Linked DNA regions of Homo sapiens: region 2 is linked to region 1. Evidence: promoter capture Hi-C in 16 types of primary human blood cells and fetal thymus (Javierre and others, 2016). All regions are on one chromosome and are shown on one strand. Each heading gives the region's core, a stretch centred on a gene start or on the middle of the fragment in contact. The rest is flanking DNA. Distances are from core to core; before and after follow the strand shown.

Region 1 (5,472 bases), core at 1,168-3,667:
ACTTTCCAGTAGGGGCGGCCGGGCAGAGGCGCCCCTCACCTCCCGGACGGGGCGGCTGGCCAGGCGGGGGGCTGACCCCCCCACCTCCCTCCCGGATGGGGCGGCTGGCCGGGCAGAGGGGCTCCTCACTTCCCAGTAGGGGCGGCCGGGCAGAGGCGCCCCTCACCTCCCGAGCGGCTGGCCGGGCGGGGGGCTGATTCCCCCACCTCCCTTCCGGACGGGGCGGCTGGCCAGGCGGGGAGCTGACCCCCCCATCTCCCTCCCGGACGGGGTGGCTGCCGGGCGGAGACGCTCCTCACTTCCCAGACGGGGTGGCTGCCGGGCGGAGGGGCTCCTCACTTCTCAGACGGGGCGGCTGCTGGGCGGAGGGGCTCCTCACTTCTCAGACAGGGCGGTTGCCAGGCAGAGGGTCTCCTCACTTCTCAGACGGGGCGGCCGGGGAGAGACGCTCTTCACATCCCGGACGGGGCGACAGGGCAGAGGCGCTCCCCACATCTCAGACGATGGGCAGCCGGGCAGAGACGCTCCTCACTTCCTAGATGGGATGGCGGCCGGGAAGAGGTGCTCCTCACTTCCTAGATGGGATGGCGGCTGGGCAGAGACGCTCCTCACTTTCCAGACTGGGCAGCCAGGCAGAGGGGCTCCTCACATCCCAGACGATGGGCGGCCAGGCAGAGACGCTCCTCACTTCCCAGACGGGGTGGCGGCCGGGCAGAGGCTGCAATCTCGGCACTTTGGGAGGCCAAGGCAGGCTGCTGGGAGGTGGATGTTGTAGCGAGCCGAGATCACGCCACTGCACTCCAGCCTGGGCACCATTGAGCACTGAGTGAAGGAGACTCCGTCTGCAATCCCGGCACCTCGGGAGGCCGAGGCTGGCGGATCACTCGCAGTTAGGAGCTGGAGACCAGCCTGGCCAACACAGCGAAACCCCGTCTCCACCCAAAAAATACGAAAACCAGTCAGGCGTGGCGGCATGCGCCTGCAATTGCAGGCACTCGGCAGGCTGAGGCAGGAGAATCAGGCAGGGAGGTTGCAGTGAGCCGAGATGGCAGCAGTACAGTCCAGCTTCGGCTCGGCATCAGAGGGAGACCGTGGAAAGAGGGGAGAGGGAGAGGGAGAGCGAGAGCGGAGGCTCGTCTTCTACTTTCAGCGCCATGGCACCAACTGGAGGCCTAGGGTCAAGGTCTGCTCATTTCTTGGTCCAGCTATGCAGCCCCTCTAGCCCTGGGAGGTTATTGGGAGAGTGGAGAGGTGTTGATGAGAGGATCCTGGCATGTGGAAAGACAGGGTGGAAGAAATCCTGGATGCCTCTGAGGTCCCAGGTTTCTAGTATACCCTCTGGCTGGACCATGGGGAGATAGGGCAAAAAAAGGAAGGAGGGGGGCCCACAGCCTGCTCTAGCTCTGCGCGGGGGCTTGGCTCAGCATGGGAGAGACCAGAGAGAGCAAGAGGCTGCATGAAGGAAGCACAGCCAGCTCACTATGGTCTAAGGAGAGAACAGGGATTGACCTCAGTTTTAACCACCATGCCCTTTGCTCTCCAGGGCTCTGGGGCCGGCCCAGGTCAGCCACTTGGTGGGATTCCAGCCTCAGGGTGGCTGAGCTGCAGGTGCAGCACCCGGCCTCCAGGTGGCACCAATCCGCTTACTTTGAGGTGGGCTCTGACAACCAGCTGAGCTGCCCACAGTCCCTCAGACTCCCGAGGTCCTGGGAGCAGGGATCAAGGTGGTCCCCAGGCCGTAAACCTGACAGAGGCTGCAGGAGTGCATTTCCACCCAGGGTGCACTCAGCGGGTGTAACTCCACACCCGTTTCTTTGGAGTCAAGGCCCGGCCTCTCAGTGAGGAGACTGCTCCTGGTTGCCCACCGTCGGGTCATCCCAGCCTGCAGTGGAACCCTCCGCAGCCTGGCCTCTTCCAGGGTAGCCCCTCACTCCCCTCTCTCCTGTCCTAGCAGACAGGCCAGGGAGGGTGGACGAGTTCCAGCTCTGGGGATGTCCCATCAGCTGTGTCACCTTGAACAAATCATTTTGCCTCTTGGGTCTCAGTTTCCTGCAGTGTGAAACGTGGTGGAGGCATGAGGGGCAATGGGAGCCCCAAGGCCTCTTTCAGAGACCTCCTCTGGGTCCCATGTGACCTCGTGGCTGTCCCCAAAGGCAAGAGGGTCCCCAGCCCTGCGGCCAAGGCCCTGGGACACCCTATCCAAACAAATGCAGGTCTCTGACGGGCTGAGCTTTGCTCGCTTGGGTTTCTTTGCTTTCTTCCTTTTTTTTTTTTCTTTCCTGGATGAAATTCCTGCCAGCTCCGAAGGAAGGAGGGAAGAGGAGCGAGCCGCAGTGTAGAAAGTTTCCTTGACTCCTCCTCCGGCTGGGTCTCCCTCCCTTGCCAAGCCCAGCCTGTGAAACTGAATAACGAAGATCACTCAACAATGCCTGCCCCTCTCTGACTGCACCGTCCCGGCGCTCCCACCGCCGCCGCCGCCGCCCAATAGAGCCCCTGGGGCGGTCCCCACCGACGGTGCAGCCCGCCGGGACCGGGAGGAAGCAGCTGCGGCCATCGCGCCGTGCGTCCGCGCCCGGCCGCCAGGTGCCCCAGTAGCCCGACCGCCGAGATGCCCAGCCCGCCGGGGCTCCGGGCGCTATGGCTTTGCGCCGCGCTGTGCGCTTCCCGGAGGGCCGGCGGCGCCCCCCAGCCCGGCCCGGGGCCCACCGCCTGCCCGGCCCCCTGCCACTGCCAGGAGGACGGCATCATGCTGTCTGCCGACTGCTCTGAGCTCGGGCTGTCCGCCGTTCCGGGGGACCTGGACCCCCTGACGGCTTACCTGTGAGTACTGCCCGCCTGTCCCCGCCTGGTCCTGCGGGCTGCTGGCTAGCGCCCAGTCCCGGCCTCAGCAGGGCACCTGCTTGCTTGGTGCCCTGGGGCATGGGCATCCCGGAGAGGGTTTGCCCCCTTCCAAGTTGACCGTTGCGGGACTGGGGAGGGGAGAAGAGTCTGAGACTAAATACCAGGCGAGCAGGGAGACCGGGCTTCCCTGACTTGGCTTCCCCATTGGCCTCCGTGCTTGTGGGCTGACTATGGGAGCCCAGGCTTGGCGAGGTGGGTTCTGGACCCTGAGCGGGAGGGCGCGGGGCTGGCTGCTCCATCTCCTGTTGCTGCATTCTCTTCTAGCAGAGCAGTGCCCGGGATGGTGGCTGAGGGTAAAGCTGACAGAACTGGAGGTGGAGGTGAGGGGAGCGTGCCCCAGTAGGGTGGAAATAATGTCTGTTCTTCTGCCATGGTGAGGACAACAGGGCTGTCACACTGAGGCTGGGTGGCCTTCGTGGGGGCGGGGGGGGCGGGTTTCCTAGAAGCTGGGAGGGGGGCCTTATCCACTCTTGTCTCCTCAGAAAGGGACTCTGCCAGCACCATCTCCCTTCACTGGGGCCTCCTGGCTCCCCCAGGGGCCTCCCTAAAGTCATGTCCCAAGAGGCTGTGTTGGAGACACTAATTTGTGGGCAGGCGCCGAGGCTGAAAACCAGAGAACCATTTTTAGCGTCTGAGTTGGGGTGAGATGGCGCGTGAAGGGGACCCTACTGGGGGCAGCTGTCCTGTCTGTCTGGCTCATGGGAGCTTCCCCTCAGAGCTGGAGGGCTGGGGGCTCTGGCTGCTCACCACCTGGGCAGGAGGAGGGTGAGAGAGCACATTCCAGGCCACCCACCTGCACCCCCAGCCCCGCTCTGGGGCAAGGAAACCTCCTCCAGCCCAGCTCTGCAGGCTCTATCAACTTCCTCAGAGGAGCTGGGAGCAGGTGGGAAAGCCTGGTGGGGCCTTCTGCTGAGGGCTAGGATCCCAGAGTTCCTTCTGGCCTGAGAGAGGCTCCTTATGGCTTTGGGGTTCCAGCACATGGGAGCTTAGAGGAAGAGGAGGCTGGGTGAATCTTTATAGGGGCCTAGCAAGAATTTGTGGAACTAAAGATGCTCAGTGTTGGGAGTGTCCTGGTGGGAGGTAGAGGGTCCCAGAGGGCAACTCTTCATGGGGCTCCTCTCCAAATGTCCCTGTCCCCAGGTTGGGATGTCCCCCTCCACTCCAAAAGGCACAGGCTGTGGGCCAGGTAAGGGAGTGGGAAGAGAAAAATAATGTCCATCTAGAAGGACAAATGGAATCCTTCACAGTGCAGTAGGTGACGGCAGAGGCAATCATGGGAATAAAGGTACCAACTGCACAGAGCCTGGGCGCTCAGCATCTGGCAAAGCAGGGCAGGCTCCGGCCCCACCCTACACACAGGCCAGCCCCTCTTTCAGCAGTTTTCTATCCTGGGAGTATGTGACATTGGTTCATTTGAAGACAGGGTCCTGTGGCTAAAGAGTTTAGATGTGACTTCTGTGGAGCCTTTCTCTGGGTGAGCTGAAGGAAGGTCCCTTGCCTGGGTTGAAGGGGCAGGGGAGATAAGGCCTTCCAGAGCTTCCTTTCCCAGCATTAAGTCTTCCTAGACTGGTTAATGACCCTTTTTCTAGAAGGACTTGGGGAAGGAGGTACACTGTCACCTTTGGAATTCAAGCATCCTACCATCCATGCTGGCAGAAGTTTTTCCCACTAGCTTGCCACAATTCCCTCGGAGCTGTGAAGTCTGCATTTGGGTTCAGTGGAGGTGGGGTTTTCTGAGCTGGTCTGTGTCTTCCTGGGGATTGAGAAAGCCCCTCTCTCTCAAGACTCAGGGGATGCTTCTGAGAGTTGTGGAGAGAAGAGAGGGAGTGGGAGCTATAAAGAGTATGATGGGTCCTGAGGCAATATGGGGAATTTAGCAGTGGGGTCTGGAATATTGGAAGGAGGTGGCAGAGGACCGTGTCCCCTGCCCTGGGCTGGGGAGGGGTCCCATCTGGATGGTGCATGAAGGATTCCTACAGTTGTCCTGAGGGTGTCTCAGAGGAGGAATTTTCTTTCTTTGCCCTCTCTGGAGAACAGCTCTACCAGAAAGGCACCTGAAGGTGGGGTTGAGAGCTGGCATGCAGAAGAGCCAGGGTGGGGAAGTCTTGGGGCTCCTTTCTCTTTTCAGCGATGTTAGGAGATGTCCAGCTTGGCCCTGCCCCATGTATCCCAGCCCTTGCTGAGGAGAGCACAGATTCGCATCTGATGATATAATCAGCAGTGCCTCTCTCTGAGCCACTCAAACTTTGGTTCCTTCCTAGCTCTGCCACCTACTGAGAATCACTCACTGAACACCTCTAAGCCTCAGGTTCTTCATGTGTACATGGAGATGAGGAAGCAGGTTGCTGAGTGGATTAAATGAGATAATATGTTCAATGAAAGTCCCCAGAGTGCCTGACACCCGAGGGTAACTCTGAAATGGTGGCTAGTATTATCATGCCTCCTATGGGTGCTCCATGGAGGTGGAGGTAAACTACCAGGCCTCTCCACACCAGAAGAAAATTGAGCCTAGTGGGTGAGTGTAGAATTCAAGGGAATGGTTTGTGGCTGGAGGAAGAGAGCTGTGTGCTG
Region 2 (4,880 bases), core at 2,322-4,821, 460 kb after region 1:
TGGGCTGAAGATTCACATTTGTGAGTTATCTGCTTGGAGAAGGAGGTTGAAGCTGAAGGGTATGGCCATTTCGGACAGCAGGAGATGCGAGCCCAGGACAGGCCTTGAGGAAGCCCAGAATTATTCACTACAGGCTCATCCCTAGCAGACTTGAAACATACCTCATTTTTACAATGTCATTGTGTTCTGGGTTGTTGTTGTTTTTTTAAATCTCAGAGTCCTTTAAGTTCTTCCGTTTTCTTTATCTACTGTTGAGCCAACAGCTGATCAAGTGTCTGAGAGTCTTCAGGGACAAGGGGACACTACCATTAATTCAGGCACAAGGGAACACCACCGTTTACGCACTGTGCTGGGTCTTTATGTGCCCAACCTACGTGACCCTTGCAGGAGAGGTGTTCCTATCCTTGTTTTCCAGAACAGGACACTGGGGCTCAGAGAAGTTAAACAATGTCCCTAGGGTCCTGCAGTGAGTGGCAGGGGTTACACGATCCTGCTTGATGTGTTCTCACTTCCAGATGCTGTCTCTCCAAAAGAAATGGGCATGCGCTTGCGAGGCTGAGGGAGGGTCTGAGGGACAACAGGAGTGCCAGTCACCTTTCATCTGTGTCATGGGTAGCAAAGACCAGAAGATGTGGATCTCTGATGTCCTCCCACTGGTCCAGGGCTGCACTGTGATGCTGGCAGGGGGAACACAGGGAAGGGTGATCATGCGCAAGGTGACCATGGAGCGAGTGGGCCTGCTTGGGGCAAAAAGTGCTGGGCCAGATAGGAGAGGGGGGCTTCCCTGTCTGAGCAGCAACAGGTGTGACCCCAGGCCAAGAAATAAGGACCAGAAAGTGTGGCTTATTGTGTGCAGAGAGGAGTGGGTGAACAGCGGGCCGTGCCTGTAAGAAAGGGGGTGAAGAGTGAGCATGCAGCACTGGGGGAAAGCGGGCTTTGGAACGCACACACACACACACACACGTGCACATATGCACACTTGCATGCATGCACACAGGCACAAACGCTCACATGCTCCAATCAGAACAGTCAGTCACGGAGCATCAGCCTGGTCAGGGTAAGCCAGAGGCTGAACTCTGGGGTCCCCTGCTGGTCATTGCTGTTGGACTCCAAGGTAAACAGAAATTTCCCGACTCCAGATCCTCGGCCCCTGAGGGCTTCGGCTCCCCTATCTTCTTGATTTTAGACTCAGAGCAGGAGTGGTGCAAGCCTCTGTCTGGGCATTTAGCCCAGGGCCCTGTGAGCCTGAAACTTGGAGCCAAGGATGGTAGAGTGCAAAGACCAAGGGATCAGGAGCCAGACAGACCTGGGTTCAAGTCCCAACTGCTGCTTCCCAAGCGGACAGCCTTAGGGAAGTGTCTTTAACCTCTCTAAGGCTCATTGTGACATCTATAAAAGCAGGAAATAATGCCTTTTTTGGCAAGGATGGTGCGAAGCTTAGATGAGCTGGACCACATGTTAACTTTGACATACCACACATATGTGGAGGGCCGAACCTCGTGCCACAGCCATGACATAGGTAAGTTTCCTTTGTGTTTTCACTTAGCTATCCCCAGCCCAACCTCCTGCTTCATGCAGGAATTCCCTAACCAGCCTCTGCTAGAACATTCCAGCAACAGGCAACCCACCACATTATGCTCTTCCCACTGTTTGGACATCTTTAAGAGTTACAGTGGACTTCCTATCTTGAACTAAAATCTCTCTCCCTGTGGCTTCCACTGCCAGACAGAGTCCAGCCCTTCAGAATACAGGACCACTCTCCAGCTCTCTGGAAGCAGCCACCATGGCTTCCCTGGGTGCCTTTGTCTAATCCAAACTGATCTTTCCACTCTTGTTCCAGTGTTTTCCATTGCCTCTGCCCTGCTGGCCAAATTCTTCCGGGCACAGCTCATTTTTGTGTATGTCCTTTTTAAAATGGGATGTCCAGAGAAGCACAGCACACCCTACATAAGAGCCAACTGTCCAAATTCCAGGTCAGACTGAGGCTGAGCCAACCTCATCATGGTCATGACACAGAAGCCTTTTCATCAGGTCCAGTCTCTGGCACAGCCAGTCCAAGCACACCCACACAAGAGCCACGTTCACCACGGTCTTTAGAGCAACCCACCAGAAGAGTCTCAAGGGCACCCTTTAGAAGAGATGCCCAAGACCCAAAGTGGGCCTCTTTCTCCACCTACGATTCTCTCTTCTCCCAGTGAGATCTGAAGTCCATTTCCCTGGGAGGTGGGGTCAGGACCCTGGACAGAAGCTGCTCCTGGCTTCTTAGGCATTTGAAGGGAAGGCATGCAGTGACTGGGGGCTACCACAAGGCTCTGGGAGAAGTCAGGGAGGGAGCAGTCAGACAGCTCTGTGAGCGGGAAAATGTTGGTGTGGCGGTCACTGCATTTCCCCTCTCCTCCCTCACACTGGAGAGCTGTGAGATCGCCTTAGGGACCCTGGCTCCTGGGGTGAGAGATGTAAAGGACCCCCCTTTTCTTGGCCTCCCCCTTCCCCTGGTTTCAGTTTCTGGGTCCAGAAACTGAGTGCAGTCAGCATAGACAACAGCCCTGGGATCCCCTCACTGTCCTTGACAAGCACTGGAAGCCAGCAGGTGGGTAGAGGGCTCCTGGAGGGTGAAAGCAGAGGGCTACAGCGGGGTCAGGGCCCTGCGGAGAGCTCAGGGTATGTTTGGTGGGGACGTAATGCTGATCCTGCATCTCCTCTTTGACTGCCTTGAACAGCTAATCAATGAATTCATTACTCAATCAGCAGGAAGTCACCAGCCCCTTCCTGGGGACCCTCTCACTTGGGTTCACTCAGCATGTTTCAAAGCACTTTCTGTGCCACCTCTGGGCCCACGCTGTAGGATCAGCTCTGCCCAGAGCTCATCGAGTGACCTTGGGCAAGTCACCTTTCCTCTCTGGGTCTCAGGTTCCTTATTAATAAACTAAAAGGATTGGACTAGATGATCTCTTAGGGTCCTTTCGGCTCTGATATTCCATGGCTCTGTGAGCTGGGAGACTGCAGGTGGGTGGATGACAAAGCTGACTGGCCCCTTTTTTGGAAAGAAAAAGGAAAAAATGACGAGGGCATCTGCACTGGATGGTGCCAGGAGTGGGACTGTGCAGGTTTCAGCTAAAAGTGCCCTGGATGGTGGCAATAACCAGAGTGTGCGGCAAGGGCAGTAGAGGCAGCAGAGCCACAGACCAGGAAGCCAGCCAGGCCTAGCCACCGTGTCCCCTCCCTGCGTCAGAAATCCCTACCTTTGCCTCTACTGATGCCTCTTGGATCCTGCCCTGGTCCAGTCCAGAGCTGAGTGGCAGGATGGCTGAAGTCCCCACTCCCCGCCTCTGGCCCCCAGGCTATGACAGCAGCTGCCAGAGGGGGTAAGAAGACTGGGGGCCTAGGTGCAAGCTGTGAGTACGTGTGGCGTGTGTGTGCCTCAGACAGCAGCTGAGCAGCCTGCACCAATCTCAGAGGCACTGCAATGCAGTGGTCGGATTTTTTTTATTAGTTTTTTTTTTTTTCCTAAAAGTCCTCATTTCCCAGGGAAATGCGCAGCCAAATGCTTTAAAAAAGGAGTGGCCAGATTGCCTCAAAATGTGTCAACCCCTCCCAATTCAGGGTGCTGGCACCCTCCTCTTGCCCCTGCCAGTGTGTGGCCCCCTGAACCCTGCTCCTGGTGAAGTCAGGAGGTCTAGGTAGAAGGAGTATGAAGTGGCCGATTTTCCCTTCCTAAAAGCTGGGACACAGACTGATTGAACTTAAATGCTTGCCAGATTGGAGAGCTTCTCAATTTCCCAGTCCCTAGGGGATCCGGCATAAGCCTCCTTCACATAGAGGCAGAGGCCTTTAGACTCAAGAAAATCTCTGTCTCTCTTTCTGAATGAGTTTTTTGAGGGATGGAGGGAAAATGACAACACCCCTCCCCCTTTGGAGTATCAAATACCAAATCTGCTGCAGCATTCTCAGAAGGGCATGAAATTGACCACCCTGTCTCCTTCCCTGGTGGAAGGGACCCCTCCCCTTTCCCAATGCACAGCAAACTAATTCTGCACACATGCTACCTCTGTCCGTGTTCTTCTGATCTTGGGTTTCATTTTAAGGGAACTTTTTAGTCCAGCTCTGTTTTCCCCGTTAAAAAGGTGATGAGTTCAATCAGCTGTGAAAATAAATCCAGAAGAAGGGCTGAATGGAACCAGGGGCAGACCTATCCCTGCCAGCTCAGCCCCTCCCTTCCACCAAGCAGAGGGTTTCCCGGGACTCCAACTGCTGTGGAGTGACACTGGGGGCTCTTTGCTGACAGAAAGAGAGCGGCAAAAAGAGATAGCTTAGAAGTGTGGTCAGGCTGGCAGTGTGTGGCCAGTAAGTGGCATTTTAGCCTTGGAAACGACTCTGAAAGCCCCTTGCAGGGGAAGTAGAGCTGCCCCTGCAGTCTCCGTCCTGGCTCTCAGGTGCCCAATTTGGGCACAGCAGGTGGTGAGCATCACAAGGTCCTAAGCTCTCTCCCCATGACCTGGAGGGGCTGCGAGAGCCCCATCTGCCCTTCTCCTCTAATGTTGGGTCTCTCTTGGGCACAGATGGTTCTAGCTTAGGGGCAGCCAGGGCATAGCCGAGCCAATCTGGGTACAGCCCAGGGAGAGGTGCTGCCAGTCAGCCCATCTGTCGAGCAGGTGACAGCTGCTGACATGTAAGTTGGGGGTGAGGGGTGGGGAGCTGGGCTGGTAGGGTCAGAGCTACTACCTGCAGGACCGCTCCTCCCTGCCATTAAACCCCCTGGGTCCCAGGCAGGAGGTACCTCCAGACCTGAGCTTGGCACGGAGGTCCTTCAATGAAAACAAACTGATTCTCTGCCCAAGAATCTCTGTCCCCTCTGCTTCGTGTATTTCCATCAAAACACA

The links. The method cuts DNA at HindIII sites, captures the fragments that hold promoters and counts their contacts. A CHiCAGO score of 5 or more calls a contact.
Region 2: a contact is called between a fragment that was not itself captured here and the fragment with the promoter of LGR6 in region 1, in 1 of 17 cell types (M2 macrophages). The highest score is 5.5, in M2 macrophages.

The regions. Positions count from the first base shown.
Region 1 is chr1:202,191,382-202,196,853 of GRCh38, forward strand. It overlaps LGR6 (leucine rich repeat containing G protein-coupled receptor 6), which reads left to right and starts at 2,418. Exons shown (of 18, transcript NM_001017403.2): 1 at 2,418-2,820. The coding sequence starts at 2,609. RefSeq lists enhancers at 1,004-1,807, 1,502-1,551. The HindIII fragment of the contact is 23,199 bases long and covers 1-5,472 here.
Region 2 is chr1:202,655,183-202,660,062 of GRCh38, forward strand. All of the region lies in intron 1 of SYT2 (synaptotagmin 2), which reads right to left. Among named protein-coding and RNA genes, the nearest start is that of SYT2, 53 kb to the right of the region's middle. RefSeq lists a silencer at 2,172-2,331 and an enhancer at 2,865-3,366. The HindIII fragment of the contact is 4,274 bases long and covers 1,435-4,880 here.